5 separate regions of the Homo sapiens genome follow, and all the other regions are linked to region 3. The links are contacts of gene promoters, found by promoter capture Hi-C in blood cells and fetal thymus (Javierre and others, 2016). All regions are on one chromosome and are shown on one strand. Each heading gives the region's core, a stretch centred on a gene start or on the middle of the fragment in contact. The rest is flanking DNA. Distances are from core to core; before and after follow the strand shown. Region 1 has its middle 120 kb from the start of PRDM13. Region 2 has its middle 180 kb from the start of PRDM13. Region 3 holds the start of FAXC (failed axon connections homolog, metaxin like GST domain containing). Region 4 has its middle 180 kb from the start of MCHR2-AS1. Region 5 has its middle 160 kb from the start of PRDM13.

Region 1 (5,272 bases), core at 24-2,523, 380 kb after region 3:
TCAGTCTTTTCCTTTCTGCAGTCTAGAAGGCCCAGGCGGCATCCCTGCTGCCCAGGTGTCTGCTGGCCTGGCTTCATCAAGCAGCCCTTTTTTCTGCACATGCTCTCCTAATGGCCTCTTTCTGCTTTCCTGAGTGACAATCAAACTGATTCTGAAGAATATGCTTATAGTCATAAATGTGAACAATAGCGAGCAAAGATCCCTCCTTTCTGAGTACAACAGGTTTCTGAGGACAATATTTTATTTTTTTTTAAATGGACACATTATAATTGTACATATTTATGGAGTACAGTTTGATGTTTTGATACATGTATATGTAGTATAACGATAAAATCAGGGTAGTTAGCATATTCATCATCTCATGCATTTATCAACTCTTTATGCTGAAAACATTCAGAAGCTTATCCTCTAGCTATTTTGTCATATACAATACCTTACTGTTAACCGTAGTTCCTCTACTGTGCAATAGAACCCAGAACTAATTCCTCCTATTTAATGTAACTTTGCACCTATTGATCCACCTCTCGCCATCCTCTTTTCCCCCCACATCTTCACAGTCTCTGATAATCACTATTCTACTCTCTACTTCTATGATTTCAACATTGTTTTATTATGTTCCACATAATAATGAGATCATGCAGTATTTGTCTTTCTGTATCTGGCTTATTTCACTTAATATGGTGTCTTCCAGTTTCATTCATGTAGTCAAAATGACGGGATTTCATTATTTTTTATGGCTGAATAGTATACCATTATATATATAATATTATGTGGAATTATATATATATATAATGGTATACAATTCATTGAATGAATATACTATATCCATTATATATATGCATTATATATAATGGTATACTATTAAGCCATAAAAAGAATGAATGGATAAAGAAAATGGGATATAAATATATATCTATTCATTCATTGTAGGAAACTTAGATTGATTCCATATCTTGGCTATTGTAAATAGTGCCGCAATAAACATGGACTGCAGATATCTCTTCAACATACTGATTTCATTTCCTTTGAATATGTATTTAGCAGTGGGATTGCTGGATTATATGGTTCTATGGCCAATTAAGTTTCAACAAACGTGCCAAGAATACATGTTTTATTATTCTTTATTATTCTATTTTTAATTTTTTGAGGAACCTCCATAATGTTTTCCATAATGGCTGTAGTCATTTATAATCCCACCAACAGTGCATAAGAGTTCCCTTTTCTCCACATCCTTCCCAACACTTGTTTTCTTTTGTCTTTTTATAGTAACTGTTCTAACTGGAGTGAGAAAATATCTCATTGTGATTTTGATTTACATTTTCCTGGTGATTAGTATTGTTGAACATTTTTTTTTCATACACCCATCATGGCATTTGTGTATCTTTTTTTTTTTTTTTTTGAGACAACGTCTCTGTTGCCCAGGCTGGAGTGCAGTGGCATGAACATGAATGACTGAAGCCTTGACCTCCTGGGCTCAAGTGATCCTCCCACCTCAGTTTATCAAGTAGTCATAGGCACATACCACCACACCTGGCTAATTTTTTAAGTTTTTTGTAGAGGCAAGGTTTTACTTTGTTGCCCAGGCTGGTGTCAAATTCCTGAGTGCAAGCAATCTTCCTGCCTTGACCTCCCAAAGTGCTGGGATTACATGTGCGAGCCATTGTGCCCAGCCTTGTGCATCTTTTTTATTTCAGAACATCTGTTAAGGTCTTTTGCCCATTTTTAAAGTCAGACCATTATTATTATTATTGCTATTGAGTTATTTTCTTTTTATTTATTTATTTAGAGACAAAATTTCACTCTGTTGCCCAGGCTGGAGTGCAGTGGTGCAATCATAGCTCACTGTAGCCTTGAACTCCTGGGCTCAAGTGATCCTCCTGTTTCGGTCTCCTGAGTCACTGGGGCTACAGGCACATGCCATAGTGCCTGGATAATTCATTTAGTTTTATTTTTTGTACAAATGGGGTCTCCCTTTGTTGCCTCCCAAACTGCTGGAATTATAGGCATGAGCCATTGTGCCCAGCCATATTGAAGTTTTAAAAATATATTTCGGATATTAACCTCTTGTTGGGAGTACAGTTTGCAAATATTTTCTCCCATTCTGTAAGTTGTCTCTTCAGTCTGTTAATTGGTTGCTTTGCTGTGTAGAAGCTTTTTAGTTTGATATAATCCCATTTGTCTATTTTTTGCTTTTGTTGCTGTGCTTTTGAGGCCTTATTTAAGAAATCTTTGCCAAGCCCAATCTCATGAAGCATTTCTCCTGTGTTTCCTTCTAAGAGTTTTGCAGTTTGGGTTTTTACATTTAAGTCTTTAATCCATTTTGAGTTGATTTTTGTCTGTGGTGAGAGGTAGAAGTCTAGTCTCATTCTTCTGCATGTAGGTATGGAATTTTCCCAGCACTCTTATTGAAGAGACTGTCTTTTCTTCAACATGCATTCTTGGCACGTTTGTTGAAACTCAATTGGCCATAGAAGCATGAAGTTGTTTCTGGGCTTTGTATTCTGTTTCCCTTGTCTATGTGTCTGTTTTTATGCCAGTAGCACATTGTTTTGGTTACTATAGTTTTATAGTATAATTTGGAGGCAGGTAGTATGATGCCTCTAGCTTTGTTATTTTTACTCAGGATTGCATTGGCTATTTGGGGTCTTTGTGGTTCCACATGAATTTTACTTTATTATTTTATTTCATTATTATTACCTTTTGAGATAGAATCTCACTCTGTCTCCCAGGCTGGAGTGCAGTGGCACGATCTTGGTTCACTGCAACCTCCGCCTCCCGGGTTCAAGCAATTCTCCTGCCTCAGCCTCCTGAGTAGCTGGGGATTACAGGCATGCACCACCATGCATAGCTATTTTTTTTTTTTGTATTTTTAGTAGAGACGGGGTTTCACCATATTGACCAGGCTGGTCTCAAACTCCTGACCTTGTGATCCACCTGCCTTGGCCTCCCAAAGTGCTGGGATTACAGGCGTGAGCCACCGTGCCTGTCTATGAATTTTAGAATTGTTTTTTCTCTTTCTGTGAAGAATGTCATTGGTATTTTAATAGAGATTGCATTAAATCTATAGATTGTCTTGTGTAGTATGGTCATTTAAACCATATTAAGTCTTCTGATCCATGAACACAGGATATCTTTTCATTTTTGTGTCTTCTTCAATATCTTTTATCAATGTTTTATTGTCTTCAGTGTAGAGATCTTTCACCTCCTTGGTTAAGTTTAGTCCTAGATATTTTAGTTTTGTTGGGTCTATTATAAATGAAGTTGTTTCCTTTTTTTTAAATTTTATTATTATTATACTTTTAGTTTTAGGGTACATGTGCACAACGTGCAGGTTTGTTACATATGTATACATATGCCATGTTGGTGTGCTGCACTCATTAACTCGTCATTTAGCATTAGGTATATCTCCTAATGCTACCCCTCCCCCATCCCCCCACCCCACAACAGTCCCCGGTGTGTGATGTTCCCCTTCCTGTGTCCATCTGTTCTCATTGTTCAATTCCCACCAATGAGTGAGAACATGCGGTGTTTGGTTTTTTGTCCTTGTGATAGTTTGCTGAGAATGATGGTTTCCAGTTTCATCCATGTGCCTACAAAGGACATGAACTCATCCTTTTTTATGGCTGCATAGTATTCCATGGTGTATATATGCCACATTTTCTTAATCCAGTCTATCGTTGTTGGACATTTGGCTTGGTTCCAAGTCTTTGCTATTGTGAATAGTGCCGCAATAAACATACGTGTGCATGTGTCTTTATAGCGGCATGATTTATAATCCTTTGGGTATATACCCAGTAATAGGATGGCTGGGTCAAAAGGTATTTCTAGTTCTAGATCCCTGAGGAATCGCCACACTGTCTTCTACAATGGTTGAACTAATTTACAGTCCCAAATTGTTTCCTTGATTCTTTTTTTTAGATAGCTCACTATTAGCATATGAAAATGGTATTGATTTTTGTATGTTGATATTATATCCTGCAATTTTATTAAATTTGTTTATTAGTTCTGTTTTTTGGTGGTGTCTTCAGAGTTTTCTGTATAAGATTGTGTCGTGTGCAAACAGTATCAATTTGAGTTCCTCCTTTGCAATTTGGATGCCTTTTATTTATTTCTTTTGCCTAATTTCTCTGTCTAGGACTTCCAGTGTTGCATTGAATAGAAGGGGTGAAAGTGAACTTTCTCGCTTTGTTCCTGATCTTAGAGGAAAAGCTTTCAGCTTTTCCCTATTCAATATCATGTTAGCTGTGGGTTTGTCATATATGGCCTTTCTTGTGTTGAGGTACATACCTTCTGTATCTAATTTGTTGAGAGTTTTTATTATGAAGGAATGAATATTGAATTTATATATATATATATTTTTTTATTTATTTATTAAAATAGAGATGGGGTCTCACTATGTTGCCTAGGCTGATCTTAAACTCCTGGGCTCAAGCAATCTTCCTGCCTTGGCCTTCTAAAGTGCTGGGATTACAGGTGTGAGCCACCATGCCTGGCCAGGAATGTTGAATTTTGTCAAATGCTTTTCCTGCATCTATCAAAATGATCATGTGGGTTTTGTCTTTCGGTTAATGTTGTGAATCACGTTTATTGATTTACATACATTGAACCATTCTTGCATCCCTGGGATGAATCCCACTTAATCGTAGTGAAGGATTTTTTAATGTGCTATAGAATTTGATTTGCTAGTATCTTGTTGAGAACTTTTCCATCTATGTTTATCAGGGGTATTTGTCTGTAGTTTTCTTTTTTTGTTGTGGCTTTGTCTTGTTTTGAATTAGGGCAAGGCTAGCTTCATAAAATGAGTTTGGAACTATTCCTTCCTCTTCAATTTTCTGAAATAGTTTAAGGAGAATTGGTATTATTTATTGATTAAATACTTAGTAGAATTCAGCACTGAAGCCATCAGATTCTGGATTTTTCTTTGATGGAAGACTTTTTGTTACTAATTAAATTTTCTCACTCATTATTGGTGTGCTTAGATTTTCTATTTCTTAATAATTTAAACTTGGTAGGTTGCACGTGTCCAGAAATTTATCCATTTCTTCCATGTTATCAAATTTGTTGGTATATAGTTGATCATCATAGTCTCACAATCTTTTGTACGCCTGTGGTGTCAGTAGTAACATCTTCTCTGGTTTTATTTATTTGAGCCCTCTTTTTATCTTAGCCTAGCTAAGGTTTATTGATTTTGTTTATCTTTTCAAAAAACACAACTCTTCATTTCATTGATCTTTTGAATTGGATTTTTAGGTCTCTATTTCATTTATTTCTG
Region 2 (5,457 bases), core at 1,605-4,104, 440 kb after region 3:
GTGTCTGCGTGTTGTGGGTGGCCTGAGCCCGTGGTGAGCACAGTGGGAACAGATTCGTCCTTTCTGGTGTGCTGACTAAAATCCTGGTATTTGAAAGTTTGCCACACATGCACACAAGAAAGAATGAGAACCACTGGGAAAGAGGCTCCAAAGCAAAAACTGAGTATTTCAAAACATCACCTTACTAGACGTGCATGGGAAATAGATTAACTCAGGATTTTAATGAGAACAACCAAGAAATAATGGATTTTCCCCTTCATTTCTCCTCCTTCTTACCTCAGTTATTTTCGTTTTTAAACCCTGTTTTAGAGATACGGGCTTGCTCTGTTGCCCTGGATTGCAGTGGCATGATCATAGCTCACTGCATCCTCGAACTCTTATCTTCAAGAGATCCTCTTGCCTTGGTCTCCCAACATTCTGGGATTACAGGTGTGAGTCACTGTGCTCAGCCTAGTTTTTTTTTTTTTGCTTTATTTTCAGTGTCTTCCCCATATCAATCTCACTATTTGGATTATTTCAGAAAAGGTAGAAACAAAAAATTAAAATTAAAAGTAGGTAGTACTGTTCTGGCCTATTCTCTTCCTGCTCCCGCCACCACCACTCTCTCCAGCCTCCGTTTTATTCACTTTTCCCTTCCGCTCCCATCTCCTTTATGACCTTCTTAAAATCCTGCCCTGGGATCTGCTTGTTAATGGCCTTTGTAATTATAAACAAGCAGATCCCAGGGCAGGATTCACTTTCTCCTACTGTCACTATTTCTCTACTTTTCCAGACTTAAAACCACCTAGTCTTCATATGTATGATATCCTGATGGCCCAGGTTTTGGGGACAGTCTCAAGTTCACATATCGTATTACTCCCATGACTACCTTTGTTCTTGTCAACCTTGAGTCATAGTTTTCTTTTTGGGATGTGTCATCATTGTGTCCATCTAAAATGTAAAATACAAGGGAGAGTGATTGCAAAGTGGCATGAGGGGGTGTTTCTGAAGTGGCACCCTTCAGAAATGATGGAAATGGTCAAAACTCATCAAATGTAACCTTAAAATTGATGAATTTTATTCTATGTAAATTATACTTTTAAAAAAGTGACTAAAAATATAAAATGACAGACATTATGCTGCTGCCCATGCTCTTGCCCTGGCCACCTTCCCACTGGAGTTGTGTGGAGTGCTTGTCCTTCGCTCATTCTCATCCTCTCAGTCTTTTACCTCCCGTCTCCTCTGGGAACCAGTGTGCTGTCCTGTGGTGTCCTCATTTCATTCCCACCAGCCCAGGGAGCAGAGCCCAGAGCACCTGCTCTCAAGAAAAACCAGAGTGCCTGCCTCAAAGTGGCAAAGGATAAAGTCCTACACAAAACAAAAATGCAATGATTTCTGACCAAGCCCTTCTACATAATATGTCTTTTTAACAAAAGTATCCATCAAAGTGATATAAATATCCTCAGTAATCTTGATCTTTTCAATGCAGCTCAACCAGCTGTTGAAAGGCTGTGGTGGCTCCCAGACAGATTCTGTAATAGAAGGTTTTGGGATCCCCTCTATCTCTTGCTCTGGGGCCAGCCACAGCCCTGGTGCTCAGGCCACAGAGCTTTCTGTCTTCCCACCTGCAGGGAGAAACCTGGGAAAGTCTCCTCCCATCATTAAGGCTGTGGGCACGTACAAATGCATTCATGTGTTTTGAGGGACAAGTGAACCATATTAAAGGAGGAAAGAGGGAGGGGTGATTAAGCATCTTTCTATCCCTTTCCACAGCCATCTGCCCTTCTTTGGGTCTCTCTTTTTCACCCCCTTTGGGTCTGAACTTATATATTGCCATGAATAAGCAGATCCCAGGACAGGATTTTAAGGTCATTGCCCAATATCATTCATTAATTTGGTATTTATATATTGCTAATGAGATATGACTGTAAGAAGAATGCCAATCACATTGTAAATAAAAATTTTCTTTTGATTATGAAAGCAAATCAGTCCCCTTCAAGAGAATTTGGATGTTAAAAAATGTGCAAAAAGATGATGAAAATCACCATCAAGAAATAATATCAATATGTTGCTATCTTTCCATGTTATGTATATGTGTAATTTTTATAAAAATTAGATAAAATTAATTTTGTATTTTTATACTGAGCATTAAAAAGTATTTAATTATATCATTTTTAATGCTTTATATTTTAATATTCTGCTGTATAAACATATTGTAATTTATTTAATCATTTTCCTATTTTTAGACACAAATTGTATCCATTTGAAGTACATAAATATATTAATAGAGTTTTTGTTGATATATTTTCTTTTTATTCATCTAGTTGAATATTTGGTATTTTTCTAAGTACTACATTTTAATGTCTACCTGAATAATATACTTCCATAAATTATTATATAATGTCCCCTTGATTTCAGGATACATGTATTTTGTTCTTTTCAACATACAAAATGAGAATAGTGCAGGGAACAGAGACAGGTAATACTAACAAAGATTATTTAGTTATTATCAGAGTTCCACCTACTGGTGTATTTTAAAATGGCATAACACAGACCTTTTGATTAGCATCAATGAAATTATTTAAAATATCCCTGTTGCTTAAATTATTTTAGTCAGCATTAGGATAATTGATAACAAGAAAAATGTCATGGCTTTAGATTTTCTTTGTTAACTTCCTAAATCAATAAAAATCCCAATATTTATAGTATTTCAACAGGTTAAGAAATGGAAAATCTCACTGTTAACTATATACAAATAAAATAGAATAAATAGACTAAAAAGGAAATAATACATTAAAAACATATTGAAAAGCTAGTAAGATATTTATGGTGAATGAAGCCACCAAGCTCAGACAATTTTATGAATAAGTTCTAACAAATCTTTAAGAAACAGGTAATTTTGGCTGGGCATGGTGGCTCATGCCTGTAACCCCAGCACTTTGGGAGGCCGAGGCAGGTGGATTACTTGAGGCCAGGAGTTCAAGACCAGCCTGACCAACATGGTGAACACCTGTATCTACTAAAAACACAAAAATTAGCTGGGCGTGGTGGTGGGCACCTGTAATCCCAGCTATCTGGGAGGCAGGAGAATCGCTTGAACCCAGGAGGCAGAGGTTGCAGTGAGCTGAGATCGGGTCACTGCCCTCCAGCCTGGGTGACAAAATGAGACTCCATCTCAAAAAAAACCAAAAAAACAAAAAACAAAACAAAAAAAGAAATAGGTAATTTTATGCTACTTAAACAGTTTTATAGAATAGAAGAAGTTAGATATTATCGCTCTGATTTTATAAGTCTAATAAAATGTAATATCGAACTAAACAAAGCTGTATCATGAGAAAGAAAACTGTGTCAATCTAATTTAGGACATAGTTCTAAAATTTTAAATAAAATATTGATATATGGAATGCAATAATTGATGTAGTCTTTGAATAACAACAATTATATCAATTATCTAATATTTCATAACATACCACTCCAAATTTTAGAGTCTTACATTAATTATCACTTATAATCCCATGCTGGCAATTTGTTCAGCCAGGATCAGCTGGGCAGTTCTGCTAGTCTGACTGTGGGCATTTGTGTGGCTGCAGGCCACATTTGGGGCTGGGTGGCCCACAATGGTCTCTCTTACATGTCTGACAATTGGTGCTGGCTGTTGGTTGGGTCTCTTTCTCCATGTGGTTTCTTTTCTTTTCTTTTTCTTTTTCTTTTTTGTTTTTTGAGACGGAGTTTCACTCTTAGCGCCATTGCACTCCAGCCTGGGCAATATCTCAGCTCACTGCAATCTCTGTCTCCTGGGTTCAAGCAATTCTCCTGCCTCAGCCTCCCAAGTAGCTGGGCTTACAGGAACCCGCCAACACACCTGGCTAATTTTTCTATTTTTAGTAGAGATGGGGTTTTGTCACATTGGCCAGGCTGGTCTTGACCTCCTGACCTCAGGTGATCCACCTGCCTTGGCCTCTCAAAGTGCTGGGATTACAGGCATGAGCCACCATGCCCAGTTTAAGTTTTGCCTCTAGGCTCCTTTATATGGCAATTTCAGGAGAGTAAGAAGGTCAAGAACAGGCACTGTAAGGCCTCTGGAGGCATAGATTTGGAAGTTACATATTGTAATTTCTGCTGCATTTAATTGGTCAAAGCAAGTTACTAGGGGGCTCAATTTAAGGGGATGGAGAAAGAGGCTAGTTCTTAATGGGAAGGACGATGACATCAAATTGTAAAGGGATATCCATACAGGGATGAGAGGAACTGTTGCAGCCATTTTTGAACACAATCTACTACTATCCTTAAATAAGTTAATTTTTGTAAATACTTAGAACAATGACTGGCACATAGTGTCATATAAGTATTTACCAAATAAATAAGGAATCAACTACAGTTAATTTTAGGAAAACAAAGTTCACCATTAGAACAATCCACTGATTATGGTTTTCTGGAAAGAAAAAAATCTACCTCTCAGAAAGCCGACCAATATAGACAATATAAGTAGGTATTTTTCATTAAATAATTTCAGAGAGAAAAGAGAATCAATTACCTTCCCAATTTTTTGAGTTTCAAAAACTTAAGGTGACTTCAAGATGGTATATCATATGATCTTCTCCACTCTATTCCCGAGACATAGGAATAATTGAAAACAAGTATTTAAAAAAATTTTAAAGTACATATATGAGCTTAAGAACAAGAGGAAGAACAGTGGATCAGGAATGGATAGTGGCGAGTAGGGACAAACTGATGTTAGTACTGGACAAGGAGTATAAGCCACATTACCTGTGTTGCAGCTAGAAACAGACCCATGCTGGTAGCTCCAGTGGGAAAGACAGGCATTTGAGTCAAAATGGGGAGGATGCTTGAGCTGCCTGTGGGTGGAGATTTTGAGACTATCTTTCCTGTAAGGGGCAACAACCCCAACCCTCTAACTTGGTTAATGTCTGGGTAGCCCAGAGGGCCAGGCTGAGGCAACCTCAAAACCACTCCAAGAGAAACACCTGAATGGGGTAAACACCCTCATGCAAGATAAGAGCACAAAGCGAAATTTCAAAGCACACAAAGAAATCCATGGTCATCAGAGGTTACCATGGCAGTAATTTTTCTTGGGGATAGATTTCCTTCTGATGACATCCTGAAAGTATCTACTTACTTCTTATTCAACAAATATTACTTATTTAAAAAGCATCCATGTGTTCCAAGTACAAGTTGTTCTAGTGACTGGGAACAAATGGTGAACAAAGCACACAAAAGTCCTTCTCTTCATGGAGTTTATGTTCTGGTGGGAGATAGATGAGGAAAGAAACATTTTGGGAGTAACCTGGATAGAGTATAGCTAGTTAGGCAGATGACAGATGGAGGATGGCTGAGATATAGATTCTCAAGCCCCTGAATCATGTTCTGCTCCAGCTGTTCATTCTCTCACGAAGTCCCAAACACCAATCATTTTTCCTTTTTTATTGAACCACACAAATAAAATGAAAATGAAATGAA
Region 3 (5,378 bases), core at 2,168-4,667:
CCCTTTGCCCCTCCACTCCTCTTCCCCTAGACGCTGCAAGAAAGGCACCTGATACAGGTCTGTCTTCCCTGAGCAATGCTTCAGTTCTCCACATTTCTCTTCCTTCCTCTTCCTCCAACAAAACGGATTTCAAAGTAGGTACTTTTTTTGAGACGGAGTCTCGCTCTGTCGCCAGGCTGGAGTGCAGTGGCACCATCTCGGCTCACTGCAACCTCCGCCTCCTGGGTTCAAGCGATTCTCCTGCCTCAGCTCCCCGAGTAGCTATAGGACTACAGGCGCGTGCCACCACGCCAGGCTAATTTTTGTGGGGTTTTTTTGTTTGTTTTTTAGTAGACGGGGTTTCACAATGTTGGCCAGATGGTCTCGATCTCTTGACCTCGTGATCCGCCCGCGTCAGCCTCCCAAAGTGCTGGGATTACAGGCGTAAGCTGCCGCGCGCCGGGCCAAAGTAGGTACTTTCTAAGAGGCAGTGGTTAAAAACTGCAGGCTCTGATTTGAATCTAGATCCTACTACTCTTACTGTGTGATCTTGGGCAAGCTGCTTAACCTCCCTGAGCTGCAATTTCCTTATCTATGAAATGAACAAACAACAGTTGTGAGGAATAAATGCAGTCACACATGCAAAGCCCATCCTACTAAGTATTCAGAAATAGCCCTTTTTTATTGTTTGCATTACTTCAGAGCTTTCTAATTCAACTCAAACATTTGTCCAGAAACAAAACTGGCCAAGTATGGTGGCTCACACCTATAAACCCAACACTTTGGGAGGCCAAGGAGGGAGGATTTCTTGAGGCCAGGAGTTTGAGACAAGCCTGGGCAACATAGTGAGACCCCATCTCCACAAAAAAGTTAAAAAAAAAATTAGCCAAGTGCAATGGTTCATGCCTGTAATCCCAGCAACTCAGCAGACTGAGGCCAGAGGATCGCTTGATCCCAGGAGTTCAAGAGCAGCCTGGCCAACACGGTGAAACCCTATCTCTACTAAAAATACAAAAATTATCCAGACGCGGTGGTGCACGCCTGTAATCCCAGCTACTCAGGAGGCTGAGCCAGGAGAATCATTTGAACCAGGGAGGTGGAGGTTGCAATGAGCTGAGATCGAGCCACTGCACTCCAACATGGGCGACAAAGCGAGACTCAGTCTCAAAAGAAAAAAAAAAAAAAAGGAAGAAAAAGTGTGAATCAACCTAGGATTAAACTCCTTAGTCCAAATAAGCATCCAGTGCTGAGGTATATAGTCCCCTAAATGAGTTAGTAGCTATCTGTGGGCAGAGAGCTCTCCAGTCTCCAGTGACAACACCTGCCAGGGCAGGGCCTACTCCGGAGTGGCAGCTGAGCTCCACACTGTTTCTGCAAGGTCATTTAAGCTTTGTTTTAAACTTGGTCCTGTGAAGCCTTCACTCCCTCCACTGCTGAGAAGCCTCATGGTTTGGGATCTCCTCAAAGGCTTTAGACTAGAATACAACTGAGAAACAACTGGGTTACCATTTAAATTACTGCCCAAATGTTTTAGTTCTTTAGGTAGCTTGAAATCTAACTTGAAATACAGTTCTAAAACTAGCACAATTAACAAATAATCTAGAGAGATAATTCTCTTTAAATTTTTTTGTTTGGTTCAGCTAGATTCAAGGCAATGTGTTGAGAGAATTAAATGTGCAACAAGCTTAAAATAAACTTCCTCAAATATGGCTAAATAATATGAAAACCAATACATTTCTCCAAACCTAAATGATTTCCCACCCTTTCAGAGATGGGAACTATTCAAAATATGTACGTTAGGCCAAATGCCTACATTAGGCCATCACAATAATCTCCTGGGATCCCTGCAGGCTAGTACAGGTCACCTATCACTGTCTTTGTTTATAACCTATTGTGTAGGATTCCTCCACTGGAATAAGGCAGTGTGGACACATTTCTCTCACTTTAGAAAATACTGGCAAAGAGACATTCTGAGCTATTGAAAACTGGGCTTCTGGTAATCTTCCAGTGACGGAAGGCTCAAATGCATGGAAATTTTAACCATTAATTGATGTATCAATTAGCCAAACGACTGTCTCAGTGCCCTGTGGTATTACTCTACCCAAACAAAAATCTCGTCCCGGCTGGATGTACCAACAGCAGGGGCCTCCATTTTCTGGTATTTCCAACTCAATCTTGTAAACATTCTGCGGCAGCGGATGCAACTGTTTACGGCACTGGGCGACTCCGTGTTGTGCCCAACACACCCATGTGCTAGCCTGTCCTACTGCTCACACAACAATGACATCTAAGCCTGAAGATGGTGCTTGGCGTTCAATACCAGATAAGCAGAGAACCAGGTTAAGGCTGCATCAAAGCTGCCCACCACTACACTTGGTCATGCATCTTTAACAGGGACCCGCAGGTTTCTGGAGCTTTTGCAATTTTTCAGTCTTTTGATGTTGACATTTAGGGAAGAACTAACCTTTAGGTAAAAGATAAGGTTAGCAGTTAATATTCCAGCATTATTACTTATAAACAAGGCATTTCATAAAAGTGTAACCTATTTCTGCAGGGCCCAATTCTATTGTTGCAAACACACTGCACTTAGATCCTCCTAAGGCCATTTCTTAATAGATAACGACAAGTGACCCAGAGCATTTTGGGAGACAAATGTTTTTCCCTCCCAGCACCGGTTTAATTCTCCTTTCAACTCTAAACTGCCCCTCACGGCCAGGTGACCACAAATGCCTTTAGGGAAAGGTAATTGCAGGGCGCTTGGGCATCTGGGCAGCTTGACCGAGGGGCTGGCACGGGCCCCTCTCGCGCCAGCCCTGCCCTAGCCAGGTGCCCCTCTCTGCGCCCCTGTGCGGGGCCCTCTCTCCGGCTCACCTAATGACCAGGAGTTCGTGGAGCAGATACGCAGCTGCGGCCAGCAAAGCTCCCCCGGTCAAGTAAAGGGTTTTCTTCCACCAGGGATCGGAGCCCAGCCCTGCCATGATCCCACCGTAATCCTGCAAAGGGAAAGCGATGATGTCCCCATAAAAGGAGAAGGGCTCCTCGGACCCGGCCCACCAGCCGAAGAAGGAGATGCTCTGGTTCCAGCTCAGATCCACCACGCACGGCCTGGACGAAGCAAAGCCAACCCCCCAGTGCATGCTGCGCGGCTGGCTCCGGGCGCCCCTCCCAGGGCCCGCGCCGCCCGCATGGGAAGGGGCCGGCGCGGCCCGGCGCGGGCTCAGAGGCGCGCGGAGGGCGCGGGCGGCGCGGGCGGCGGCGACTGAGGAGGCGGCGGCGACTGAGGAGGCGGCGGCAGAGGAGGAGGAGGAGGAAGGGCACTGGCCGCGGACGGCGGGCCTGGCCGGCGGGGCCCCAGAGCCCTGGGCGGCAGCAGCGGCCGCCGGCTCCCCCCGCAGCTGCCTCTCCGCCCCGCTCTTTGTGTCGGCGCCTGGAGAAGGCCGCGTGATGTCATTGCTCCCCGGGGCAGGGAAACAGAGGCGGGATAAAGTCACCTACCCCGCGCCCTGCCCCCTCCCCGCATCTCCGCGGTCCGGCCGCCTCCGCCGGGGCCGGATCTGCAGGGCTGAGGCGCGCCGGGCAGGCTCCGCGCCTCCGGGCGGCACGCCCAAAAACCGCTCGCCGCGCGCGGGCAAGGGCGGCGGAGGTGCCTGGAAATGCGGCCCCACCGCGAGGAAGCTGCAGTCGGGGCCCGGATCCCGGTCCTCCCCTACCCCGGCCGGCCCTCCGCCTGCGCTCCAGCCCCTCCCGCGGGCCCCAGAGTAGGGAACGCGCAGGACTCACCTGGGGCGGCGCGGAGCTGCGGGCAGGAGACGCCACCAGGCGGGGGCTGGGAGCGTGGGCCAGGATTAAAGTCGGGAATCAGATTGTTCTGGCCATCAGGAAAGCGCTGCGTATTTGCATAATGTATAAAAACACTCTTATTACATTACACAATTACCTCGGGCTTGACCAGGTGTTCGCAGAGACGAGATGTCTGGTTTGGCAAATAACAAAATACTCTACCTAGAGAGATTTCTCTGACAAACCCAGTTCAAGTCTTTCCTCTTTGAAGTCACTATCAGGGAACTCGCTGATACAGGGTTTCGGTTGGGGGACGGGGGTCCCTCTTTTGTTTTAGAAAATCTGTCTAACAACTGTGTGTGTGTTCAGTGTATTTTTTTCCTTTAACTTCATTTATTAAAGTTCATAAGTACAAAGAATAGAAGCTTGTAATATATGCACAGATTTTAACAAGAGCATGGATAGTTTTAAATTGTTTGGAAGAACTGAAAAAGGATTCGGGCCGTGGAGGTTCATCACTCTCAAGGTGGAAGGATGGGTAAAAGAAACCTCCAGGCTCTTGCCTATGGAGCAGAGATTGAGGCGCAAAAGGACTCCCCCTTTTTTTCCTCTCCTGACACACCCGCCCCTTAGAACAGGCAAGGAGTGTGGTCGTCTTGTTAATAAATAATAAATATGGACGTGTCGCCTCAACGAGACGGGGGGAGGGGCTAGTCAGCTGATGCCTAGGCACCAGCATGTGAGACTCCCCAAACACTCCTGGGAAAATGTGACCTCCCAGGAAGAAGTAATGTGTGTGGTTCTAAGTGAGGCTCCCATAAGTAGGTTGCAAGGAGTGAAACCCAACGGCCTCCTGGGGTGACTGAGGTGGTCACCAGCCGGTCTTTCAAGGAGAGAGGCCAGAAGGCTGCCTGGCCTTGTCGGCAAGAAGCAGAGTAGTTAAGTCTGGGACCAAAGCTGCAGTGCTCTGGAAGAGGGAACAAGGAGGGCTGGCACCAGGGATTCTCCATGCTCCTTCTGTGCCCTTCCCACAGAGCACTCAGTCTTTGCTCTCAGTGAACACTGAGCCAATATTTAAAGAATATAAGTTTGATATTTGGGATCACATTATTTGCATATCTAGGTCTAGACATGGGGATGGGCATAAATTACCTTAAGTGGAAGAATATGGAAGGCAAAAGGGAGAGTCAATCCTGACAAACCTTATGCCCAAAACAAGTTAGAACCCAGAGGAAGTGTAGTATTTTTATCCCAGAAAGCCACTGACTACAATTCACTCTCACTCATAGTGACCTGCCCCACCCACTCATGCAGGCCAGGGGCCCACTGCTGCTTCCTGGTAGTGTCAGACAACTGTTGAGCATCATCTGGTCTCTGGTTCAAATATGGTTTACATTTTTAGAGACACTGCAGTGAACATCTTTAAGAAGCAGATGTGGGCTGGGCACAGGTGGCTCACACATGTAATCCCAACACTTTGGGAGGCCAAGGTGGGTGGATCACCTAAGGTCACGAGTTCGAGATCAGCCTGGCCAACATGGCGAAACCCCGTCTCTACTGAAAATACAAAAAATTAGCCGGGAGTGGTGACGAGCACCTGTAATTCCAGCTACTCGGAA
Region 4 (5,514 bases), core at 914-3,413, 460 kb after region 3:
TACCAGGACACCTCTTCTATTTCCAGTAAGGCCAATTATCTCATTTTCCTTTATTCCCTTTCCTGTGCTGCTTTTGCAGAGGAGGGTGCACTTGTTTTGGTGAAATAAGACAATTGCATTAGAGACTCTCTCTGTAAGCAGAGGAAACAATGTTAATCATATGAGACCCTTTTAAAATGTGGACCACACTGGTTTATTGCTACTGTACTTTTAACCCCACTCTTTTATATTCCGCTTTATGATGCTGGGCTGAATCCCTGCAAACTTTTCTCCTGTGCTAGCCTCTGTTACATACTGGCACAGGGGGCCACTCAAAGAGTCTGAAAGTAGGGACCTGTTTCTTCCTGTTCCTTTCAGTGTCACCACAGTGATGGTTCTTCATACTGGCCTTGACGGTTGTTCCATTACAGCAGTACTTTCAGAACCAGCCTAAACACCTGTCCCCACCCTCTCCTGCCCCGAAATGCCAGCTTTCCCTCCTCAGAGATCTGCATGCCAGCTCCTTGAGGGTCCCTCCTTCAAGCTTCTACATTTTCTTAATTCCATTCCATTCCCTTTGTTCCCACAGTCCTTGGGGTGGTAGCTACTCATTGTAGTTACTATCTCTGTGATACCTCAGTATGGCCCCCTTTTCATTTCCAATTCTCCAATACCTGGCTAACTATTCTTTATGTTAAATTCTCCCAACTAAACTTTCTGGTGTGTTTTTGTCTCCTGATGGCCCTGGCTAATGCACGGACCAATACCAGACTGACTTTGCCATTTCTTTCATACTTTTAGAGTATGTGGCTGTTCTGCTTCTCCAGTGCTTCCCATCTAGTGGTAGGTGACTACTGGTGAGATGCTAGGTTAGCATAACATGTACTTAGAATTTAAAATGGAATTCACTCCCAACAAGATTTCAGCAATTTGTATTTCTGTGAATTGTATTGTATATGAATATATAATAATACAATATCCATGAATGTAAATGCCTTAGAAATAGCAGACTTTTGTTTCATATTTAGTGAAACTCCATATAAATATACAAATGTTGCTTTCCAAAGGACATGAAATCCATGTTTTATTTATGTATTTATAAAAAATTTAAAGAGCCTCTTGCCCAATTTTATATAGAAAACAACAAACAAGCCATCTTCAAACAAACAGTTATGTTTCCTCATGGGATTTAAAATAGAACATCTTGTCCAATAGGCTTCTTCAACCTAAAGTTATCTAAAAATGCTAAATAAGCTTCTTCAAAAAATAAGCTTATTTCACTTAGGAAATGGCTCTCCTTGAGTACAGAATTGTTGGACAAGAAAAAAGCTTCTAATTACTTCTGAAAGAATCTCTGAAGAGCTAAGATCAATGAATTGGATGAGAATTCTATCTGCCACGTGTCTTCTATTTTTCACAGGAAAAATGAAAGTAGTTTTTTTCCCTCTTTTTCCCAAGCACTCTCGATCTCTGAGTCCTTCCCTCCCTCTCTTCCCCAATCCCTTGTTTCTACAGCAGGTTCTATATTTAGAAAGAATCCATGGACTAAGGACAAAGCAAGTTTGACTTTCATTTCTACCAGTTCTGTTGGTAAATGTGGGTTATGGCTGCAGCAGCCTTAAATGACTCCTGTGCCTCTCTACCCATCTTCTCTAGGAATTTCTGAAGTGTGCTCTCTTTCAGGTGCTTGGTAAACTGGGTTTGTTGTTTCCTGACAGCTGGGTTGGAGTGGGGGCTGTTACGGATTGTCAGATAACACGGATGGACAATGGTGCTAGAATGGACACCGCAGAGAGAGGATGGGAGGTATGGGGTTAGGAAGGGAAGGCTGAGAGGCAAGGGGCAAAAGCAGGCTTGCCCCTTGTCTTTTGATCACTTCAAACCATTCTTTCTTCCTGGTAGAGCTATGGATAGTGACAGTGTATGCCCAGCTTGAGGGAAATGTGTGTAATTCAGAGGCACACCCAACTCCAAAGGGACACACTACTGTTTACAGAGAGTCAAGGCTTTCAGATGAGTTGTGCTTTTTCCAAGGTTCCAAGACATCAATAAAAAAAAAAATGTGCCTTTGTGCTGTTTTCATACTAGCTTAGGCATGTTATTTTCCTCTCTAAAATGAGGTTGTTAGCACTGAATGGATCCCAAGATTGTGGTCTTTATTTAGTGAAAGGTCATGGACCAAAACCTAGATTGTTTCTACCATTTTGTTTCAATTTATATGTTCTGATAGTTTTCTTTTTATTCTGATTCAAGGTTTAGCTTTTTTTTTTTTTTTTTTCAACGATCATATTCTCACGACTGCTCTTTTAGGGTTTTATTGGTGCTGATGATGCCTGAATTTGTCTCTGGTTCTGAACTCTTTCCTGGGCATAACTCTTTAACTCCTTTGATGACCTGAACATGTTTGCTTGCACATCCCAGCACTGCTTTCAACTGAGCACATGTAGCATAGCTCTTCAGTAAGAACGGTCTCTCCCTAAAGTCCATGTTTCTGCAAACAGCACCACAATCACCAAGGTCAGGCTTACCTTTCTCTTCACTCCCATGTTCAACTGGTCACTCAGTCCTTGTACATCTGCCTTGATTGTTTCCAGGTTGTTTTTCTCTGTTCTCCCCAGGGCTCGCTCATTACCTGGATTGTCCTAATGCCTTCTTACCTGGTCTTTCTATTTCTGGTCTCTTTCTTCAAATAGTTCTGCTTTTTATTTCAAATCAATCTGCTAAAACATCACTTTCATTGTTTCTTGCCTCAATTTAAAAAATGCCACTTCCCCCATTTTTCTGCAAGACCCCTCATCTAGATTTTAAGTTCCTTCACAGGCCATCAAATTTTTCAAATTTACTTCTAACCACTCACTCCTCAATATAAAGGCTCTATCCATTTAGAAGAATAGAACCAAGCTAAAAAGCTGGGGGAAAGTTCAGATGTGATTGAGAGTTTGATGACAGATTTTGTGTGTGTGTGCGTGTGTGTGTGTGTGTGTGTGTGTGTGTGTGTGTGTGTGTGTATTCATTCCCTTTGGGTGTTCCTAAATCTCCTGAAGCTTTTATTGAGAAGCCCATTCTAGGATGTTTTACATTTGAGTCCCTGAACATGACTTGTTCATATTATCTTCTTCCCTCCCCTCTGAGATTATTTCTGTTAATTGTATCACCAACCTCATCATCCAGCTAGAAATCAAGCCATCCTCTTTAACTTGTCTGTATCTCTTACCTGTCACCTCAACCACTTGTTGCATCCTGGTTTATTCTATTGTGCAACATCTCTCACATACGTTGCCTCCTGTCTGTTCATTTGTGCTGTCTTTCACAACCTTCCATTTTTCTACTATAAGCTTTTGCAGCTAGATTTCTAGCTCATCCTGTATCTATAGATAAATTTGTTCCCCACTCTTGCTTTCTGTACCATATGCTGTTTTCAGATTTATTTTCATAAAACTTCTACTCAGACCCCATTGCTTGCTCTTCAGGGAATTCTCACTGCCTGAAGAATAAAATCCAAACTTCTGGGATTAAAGTTCTTCCACAGCCCGAGCCTGTTACCAGTGGCGAATCTGACAGGTCTGCCGCAAACCTGACCCTTGCCTCCTTGGAGGAAATAATTTGGCTGAGGAGCAGAAGTAGGTTTCAGGTAGAGAGAGAGACCTAAGCAAATTTTAGAGCAGGAGTGAGTTTATCAAAAAGTTTTAGAGCAGGAACAAAAGGAAGTAAAGTACACTTGGAAGAGGGTCAAGAAGGTGACTTAAGAGATGCAAGTGTCCTGTCTGGCCCTTGACTTGGGGTTTTGTACATTGGCATGGTTCCAGGGTTTATGTTTCTTCTCCCTTGATTCTTCCCTTGGAGCGAGCTGTCTGCATGTGCAGTGGCCTGCCAGCACTTGGGAGGGGCCACATGCACAGTGTGCTTACTGAAGCTGTACAGCACACTTTAGGTGTTTTTTTCTTACCAGTCTAGTGTTCCTAAAGGAGGGTCATGTACTGGTTAAATGCTGCCATTTTGCCTCTTAGCGTACATGCTTGAGCCCACTCATCCAGCTCCTGAGATCTTATCAGGAAGCTGCTGATCACCAGCTTCAGGTGTTTACTACCTACTGGGAGACTCTGTTTCCCTGGTGCTGGTCATGACCAATTATTATTTTACAGTGGTTGTTTAACAGCCACCTGACCATCACCTGATGGTTGCCTGACATTCCTGGGGGTGGGGCCTCTCCTGCCTTGCTCATGTCTGCCTAATTACCTGCTCTAAGAAGCCTGCCCTAACATTCCTGTCCTATCTCCCATGACATTCCTGGCCTAACTAAGAAATGGGCATAATTTCTTGAACATGTCCTATATGTTTGCTTGCGCTATTTCCTCTGCTTGGATTTCCCTTTTTGCCTTCTGTGCCTGACGTAATGCTACCCGTTTTGGGCCCAGCTCAAATATTACCTCCTCCCTAATACTTTCTATCACCTCTTCCTCTGTTTGAATATTTAACTGTTTGAATATTAACACTCTCTTAACTGTGGCAAGTATAGCATTTTCCATATTCAACAGTTGTAAGGATTTTATATAGATGTTATCTGAGCTAGACTTACAAAGCTACCACAAGGCAGAGACTTACCTTAACCATCTGAACATCCCCAGGTCCTGGCATGATTCCTTGCATGTAATCACTGAATATGTGAACATGCTCCTGCCTTGACAGCCTTCCTCTTGCTGATACATTTTCCTGGAACTCTTGCTTTTAACCTCTCTAGGTCTCTAAATACTTAAAGACTTTAAAGGATCAATTATGATTCTTTGTTTCAGACAATTTCTTCTTAACTAGTAATCTTATCTGTGAATATGTATATTCATTGTTGTCTGTGTTATTCTCTTAGAACTTAACAAATTGCTCCTTTGTATTATTAAAAATGTTTATTTTGGGTATGATGGGCAGGGAGTGAGGAGGGAGGTCACAGTTTGAATTCAAATGCAATTTAGCTATGTTCATGCAAATCCAGTGGGAATTAGGGGTAGATATGATCATACCAGAGCGGCTGACAACTCTGAAATCTTTAGGGCTGACCAGCAGGCTAGAGACTCAGGAAAGAGTGGATGTTGTAGCTCAAGTCCAAAAGCAGTCTGGAAGCAAAATTCCCACTTCCTTGGACAACCCTAACCTTTTTCTCTTAAAGGAGTTATTATCTATTATCATAAGAACTCCTGTTTATCTTGGGTGATAACCTATTCTAAGTAAAAAGTAGTGCTTAGCTTGACCCAGGAAGAAAGCTTTAGTTGTCAAGGGCATGAACTTGGTTACAGCTTGGGTGTTATTTCAAATCACTAAGTGGTATGTGAGGACTTCACTTTGTCTTTGGAGGTATTCATGGAAGCAGTGGAGTTCTGCAGGAATAGACACATTGTGAGCATGTGCAAACCACTCCTTGGCAACTCCTGGAATAATGAAGGGACACTTTACTGTGGGCAGTGGTCTTGTCTGAACAGGATGAGAAACCTGTGAAGTTTGAGATATTATACTTTGCATGATCGTTACATGATAAAGCCTGAGAAA
Region 5 (5,243 bases), core at 1,805-4,304, 420 kb after region 3:
TGATAATCATAGAGTGTAACTAACACAAACGTAGATGGTATAGTCTACTATACACCTGGGCCATATGGTCTAGCCTATTGCTGCTAGGCTGCAAACCTGTACAGCATGCGGCCTACTGTACTGAACACTGTAAGCAGTTGTAGCCCAGTGGTATTTGTATATCTAAACATACCTGAATGTGGAAAAGGTATGGTAAAGATACAGTATTATAATCTTATGAGACCACCATCATATGTGTGGTCTGTCATTGACTGAAGCATTGTTATAGGCACAAGACTGGATCTTTGAAGAGTATCCTTGATGTCCATTTCATCACCTCCATTCTCTCCCTGGACCATACCATTTTGACTTTTGCACCATCACCCACTGAACTTTTTCAGTGTCTACCTGATTTCCAGGACCAATTGTGTCTGCTCTTGCTCTATCCTGTTTGAGTATTCCATAGCATTTGACATTTTTGATTACCCTTTGATTCTTAAAACTCTCTTTAGTTTCTGGAACACAACTTACCAGTGTTTCTTTTTGACCATTCTTATTTTTTCACAAGTTCCTTCGTTGGCTCCCTTTTTAATCCCTGCACCTGGGAATAGATGTTGGTATTTCCCAGGATTTTATTCTAGGATTTGGTCTCAATTTTATATCTTTTTTGGAGAACTCTTACTCATACTAATTACTTCAGTTAATACCTATGCTGATTACCTTCAACTATTTATGTATGTGTGTATACATATATGTTAGACTCTTGTTTGTCATTTAATTTATTTAATCATGAGGATGTTGGTTATGGATATAACTGCTAGGATACAGGAGTACATAAGAAAGACATGGTTTTTCCTTTCACAGATCATAGTGGGAGGAGACAGTTAAGGAGACAGAAATAATAAATGCTACAAACAAACATATAAGAAATATCTGCTAGTGACAAGTACTGTAAATAAAATATAGTGGAATGATATGATAGGGAGTGAGTGAGGCAAATTTACAAAGGTTAGAAAGAGCCTCTTTGAGGAGATGATAGTTAATCTGAGACTTGAATTGCAAAAAGGAGCTAGACAGGCAAAAATTGGGGGTAAGAATGTCTAAATTTTAGGAGATGGCTAGTGTAAAAATCTTGAGGCAGAAATGATTTGGTGTGTTTAAGGAACAGAATGTAAGGCCCCTATGGCTGGAGCATAGTGAGCTAGGAGGAAACAGTAAGGCTGAGGTTGCCAAAGTAGGCAGGGGCTAGATCAAGCTAAGAAGAAGAAGTATTGGAGAGTTTCATAGAAATTTGACATTACTGTCATATTTTATCATAGTTTACAAAAGTATCAGTTATAGTAAATTACAGAAAAAAACCCTGATTCTTTAACACAACTATTTTGAGAAGCACTGTTCTAGTAGATGCTTTTTTTTTTTTTGAAATCATTTGTTTATTTGTCTGTATGCTCCACTTGACTGAATTTTGCATTTTTCTTTTTTTTAAAATTATACTTTAAGTTCTAGGGTACATGTGCACAACGTGCAGGTTTGTTACATATGTATACATGTGCTATGTTGGTGTGCTGCACCCATTAACTCATCATTTACATTAGATATATCTCCTAATGCTATCCCTTCCCCCTCCCGCCACCCCAGGACAGGCCCCGGTGTGTGATGTTCCCCACCCTGTGTCCAAGTGTTCTCATTGTTCAATTCCCACCTATGAGTGAGAACATATGGTGTTTGGTTTTTTGTCCTTGCGATAGTTTGCTGAGAATGGTGGTTTCCAGCTTCATCCATGTCCCTACAAAGGACATGAACTCATCCTTTTTTATGGTTGCATAGTATTCCATGGTGTATATGTGCCACATTTTCTCAATCCAGTCTATCATTGTTGGACGTTTGGGTTGCTTCCAAGTCTTTGCTATTGTGAATAGTGCCGCAGTAAACATATGTGTGCATGTGTCTTTAAGGCAGCATGATTCATACTCCTTTGGGTATATACCCAGTAATGGGATGGCTGGGCCAAATGGTATTTCTAGTTCTAGATCCCTGAGGAATCGCCACACTGTCTTCCACAATGGTTGAACTAGTTTACAGTCCCACCAACAGTGTAAAAGCATTCCTATTTCTCCACATCCTCTCCAGCACCTGTTTTCCTGACTTTTTAATGATCACCATTCTAACTGGTGTGAGATGGTATCTCATTGTGGTTTTGATTTGCATTTCTCTGATGGCCAGTGATGATGAGCATTTTTTCATGTGTCTGTTGGCTGCATAAATGTTTTCTTTTGAGAAGTGTCTGTTCATATCCTTTGCCTACTTTTTGATGGGGTTGTTTGATTTTTTTGTGTAAATTTGTTTAAGTTCTTTGTAGATTCTGGATATTAGCCCTTTGTCAGATGGGTACATTGTAAAAATTTTCTCCCATTCTTAAGTTGCCTGTTCACTCTGATGGTAGCTTCTTTTGCTGTGCAGAAGCTCTTTAGTTTAATTAGATCAGTAGAAGCTTTTATTAAGACAAAAGGGCTTCTAAAATATGTAAGAGTATGGTGCTATATCAGCCTGATGTGCCCAGAGTACAAAACATTAGGTTTAGAGGGAGAAATATCCATCTTGAAAAGGACTGTGAATTCACACAATCCTTTTGGCACATGGAGTTGAATGGAATCAAATATATAGAAAACCCACAGTATTTCTGAGATATTTGTATTAGCAAAATCATGTTAGTAGTCTCTGGACTAAAAGAAGCCAATACTGTTAGAGATGTGTCCCCAGCATTCTACAAGCAGGATGCTCAGCTGCTCAAAAAGTACATATTCTCCAGTTCCCTACTCAGGATTTTCCAAGGAGGATATGGAAAAGAATGGACTGTCTGTCAGTGCCATAGAAAACAAAAGACTAAGGAGCCACTCAGAGGCAGAATTGAGTCTAATCGAGAAATATTCTCAACCTTCAAGATAAGTAAACCAGACATTCGCCAAGTGGTATGTCAGAATTTTTATTGTCTAGTGATTGCTATGTACTTTCTACTCTTCCTGTTTCAAAATGGTTGGGAGGATTCATGTGGTATGTAGGTCTTCTATTGTATATAAAGTGTGTGAAAAAGAAAACTCGTCTTTGTAATTCATAGCTCTCCAGAGCAAGAGAAACTGCAACTGATGATGTAAATCTTTATTTCTGAGCCTGATGTTGTAATTTTGATGAAATCTTGGAAGGTCTTGGATGTTGCGGAATGTATTTCATATGTGGGAAGAGCATAAAACACATGAAAAAGAGGTTGGACTTTAGTAGATAACTATTACAGTAATTCAAAAATGTCCACTCCATGTCCACCAGTGCCATAGGAGAAATGTCCTTCCCCATTTCTTGACTTTGGGCTCAGCATGACTGGCTTTGGCCAATGAGATGTTAGCTGATATGACACAAAAAAAGGGTTTGAAATGCCCTTGTATGTCTCTGCTGTTGTGCTCAGAAGAGCTTCCTTTGAGTAGGTAGCTGCTGCCCCTTCATTGTGGAGCTCTGAAAAGTACATGTGATACAGGCCACAGCCCAAGTGGTCTAGTGGAGGAAATGATGCTTCTCTCACTCACACTTGAAGTTCTTTGCCAGGCTTATTATAATATAAAAATTATGCTAATAAACCTCATAATATTTTCATAATAATAAAACTCCCAAGAAGCTTATAAAATACATAATTATAAAGAACAGTTTGAAATATGGATTCACATCTGCCAATAGTAAGATGGACCTTGACCTAAGTACAGAGTGCTCCTTAAGATATTAGCTAAATATAAGTTTCATAACTTTATTGAGGTGTAATTGGCATAAAATTAACTGCACATATTAACCGTATAAGTTGATAAATTTTGAGCTGTGTACAAACCTGTGAAACATCATTATAATCATGCTAATTAATATGTCCCTCACCCCAAAAAGTTTCCTCATGCTGCTTGTTATCCCTCCCCTTCACCTTTCCCTGCCCAAGCTCCATGCTGAGGCAACAACTCATCACTTTCTGTCAGTGTAGATATTTGTGCCTATATAGTTCCCTAGAACTTATATGAATGGAATCATACAGTACTCTTTTTCTGGCTTCTTTCACTCAGCATAATTATATTAAAATTCATCCACTTCATTGTATGTATCAAAAGGTCATTCTTTTTATTGCTGAGTAGTATTTTGTTTTATAGATATATAATAATTTGTTCATTTACTTATTGATAGACATTTGACTTGTTTCCAGTTTTGGTCTATTACAAATAAAACTGCTGTGAATATTCATGTGCAAGTCTTTGTATATACTCCTTTTCTCTTGGGTAAATAACCTAGAAGTAAAATTTCTGGATCATATGGAAGGTGGTGTTTAGCTTTTAAAGAAACTGTTTTCCAAAGTGGTTGTACCATTTTACATTCTTGACAGTAGTATATGAAAATTTCCATGTCTTTTCCAATATTTGACATGGTCTTTTTAATTTTAACTATTCTAATAGGTATATAGTGATATCTCATGTGGTTTTAATTTGAATTTCCTTCATGTCTAATTTGTTAAACATGAGCTTAGTTGCCATCTATATGTCTTTCTTTGGTGAAGTGTTAAAATCTTTTGGCCATTTAAAAATTCAGTTGTTTATATTCTTATTATTAAGTTTGGAGAGTTATTTGTTCTCAATATAAATCATTCATTAGATATGTATTTTCCAAATATATTCTCCCAGTCTGTAGCTCTTCTTTTCATTCTCTTGACATTTTTTGAAGTTTTTAATTTTGACGAAGTCCAGTTTGTCCATTTTTCTTTTATGGATCATGGTTTTGGTGTTTTATTTAAAAAATGCCCAGACTAAGGTCACATGATTTTTCCCATTTTTTATTTTTAGTAGAAATTTTACAGTTTAAGGTTTTTGTATTTAGGTCTATAATCTGTAAGAGACTTAAGCACCTATATGTTGTGAGGTATGAATAAATATGGATTAAATTTTATTTTTTGCATGCAGATATCCAATTGTTCTATTACCATTTGTTGAAAGGACTATCCTTTTACCACTGCATTTTTCTGGCATTTTTGTAAAAAATTAATTGTTCACATAGGCATAGGTCTATTTTATTTCATTGGTCTATTTGTCTATCTTTACACTATTTTGGCTATTGTTGTAGTAAGTCTTGAAATTGGTCATATTAGTTCTCCAATATTGTTCGTTTTCAAAGCTGTTTAGCTAAAACCTGTATTCTATATATTTTGCATGTAATTTGCATAAATTCTGTGTATTTTGCATTTCCATATA

Evidence for each region. Contacts are between HindIII fragments. The CHiCAGO score rates a contact against its expected background, and 5 or more counts as called.
Region 1: a fragment that was not itself captured here is called in contact with the fragment with the promoter of FAXC in region 3 in 1 of 17 cell types (erythroblasts); the score reaches 5.2 in erythroblasts.
Region 2: a contact is called between a fragment that was not itself captured here and the fragment with the promoter of FAXC in region 3, in 1 of 17 cell types (naive CD8 T cells). The highest score is 5.1, in naive CD8 T cells.
Region 4: a fragment that was not itself captured here is called in contact with the fragment with the promoter of FAXC in region 3 in 1 of 17 cell types (naive CD8 T cells); the score reaches 5.3 in naive CD8 T cells.
Region 5: a fragment that was not itself captured here is called in contact with the fragment with the promoter of FAXC in region 3 in 3 of 17 cell types (total CD8 T cells, naive CD4 T cells and total B cells); the score reaches 7.0 in total CD8 T cells.

The regions. Positions count from the first base shown.
Region 1 is chr6:99,726,816-99,732,087 of GRCh38, forward strand. No RefSeq gene overlaps it. Among named protein-coding and RNA genes, the nearest start is that of PRDM13, 120 kb to the left of the region's middle. The HindIII fragment of the contact is 1,751 bases long and covers 399-2,149 here.
Region 2 is chr6:99,788,375-99,793,831 of GRCh38, forward strand. No RefSeq gene overlaps it. Among named protein-coding and RNA genes, the nearest start is that of PRDM13, 180 kb to the left of the region's middle. The HindIII fragment of the contact is 9,560 bases long and covers 1-5,457 here.
Region 3 is chr6:99,346,257-99,351,634 of GRCh38, forward strand. FAXC (failed axon connections homolog, metaxin like GST domain containing) reads right to left here and starts at 3,418. Exons shown (of 6, transcript NM_032511.4): 1 at 2,851-3,418. The coding sequence starts at 3,116. RefSeq lists enhancers at 1-300, 301-801, 1,692-2,256 and silencers at 3,448-3,507, 3,578-3,627, 3,688-3,767. The HindIII fragment of the contact is 2,521 bases long and covers 1,662-4,182 here.
Region 4 is chr6:99,807,258-99,812,771 of GRCh38, forward strand. No RefSeq gene overlaps it. Among named protein-coding and RNA genes, the nearest start is that of MCHR2-AS1, 180 kb to the right of the region's middle. The HindIII fragment of the contact is 1,715 bases long and covers 1,307-3,021 here.
Region 5 is chr6:99,762,594-99,767,836 of GRCh38, forward strand. No RefSeq gene overlaps it. Among named protein-coding and RNA genes, the nearest start is that of PRDM13, 160 kb to the left of the region's middle. The HindIII fragment of the contact is 1,173 bases long and covers 2,469-3,641 here.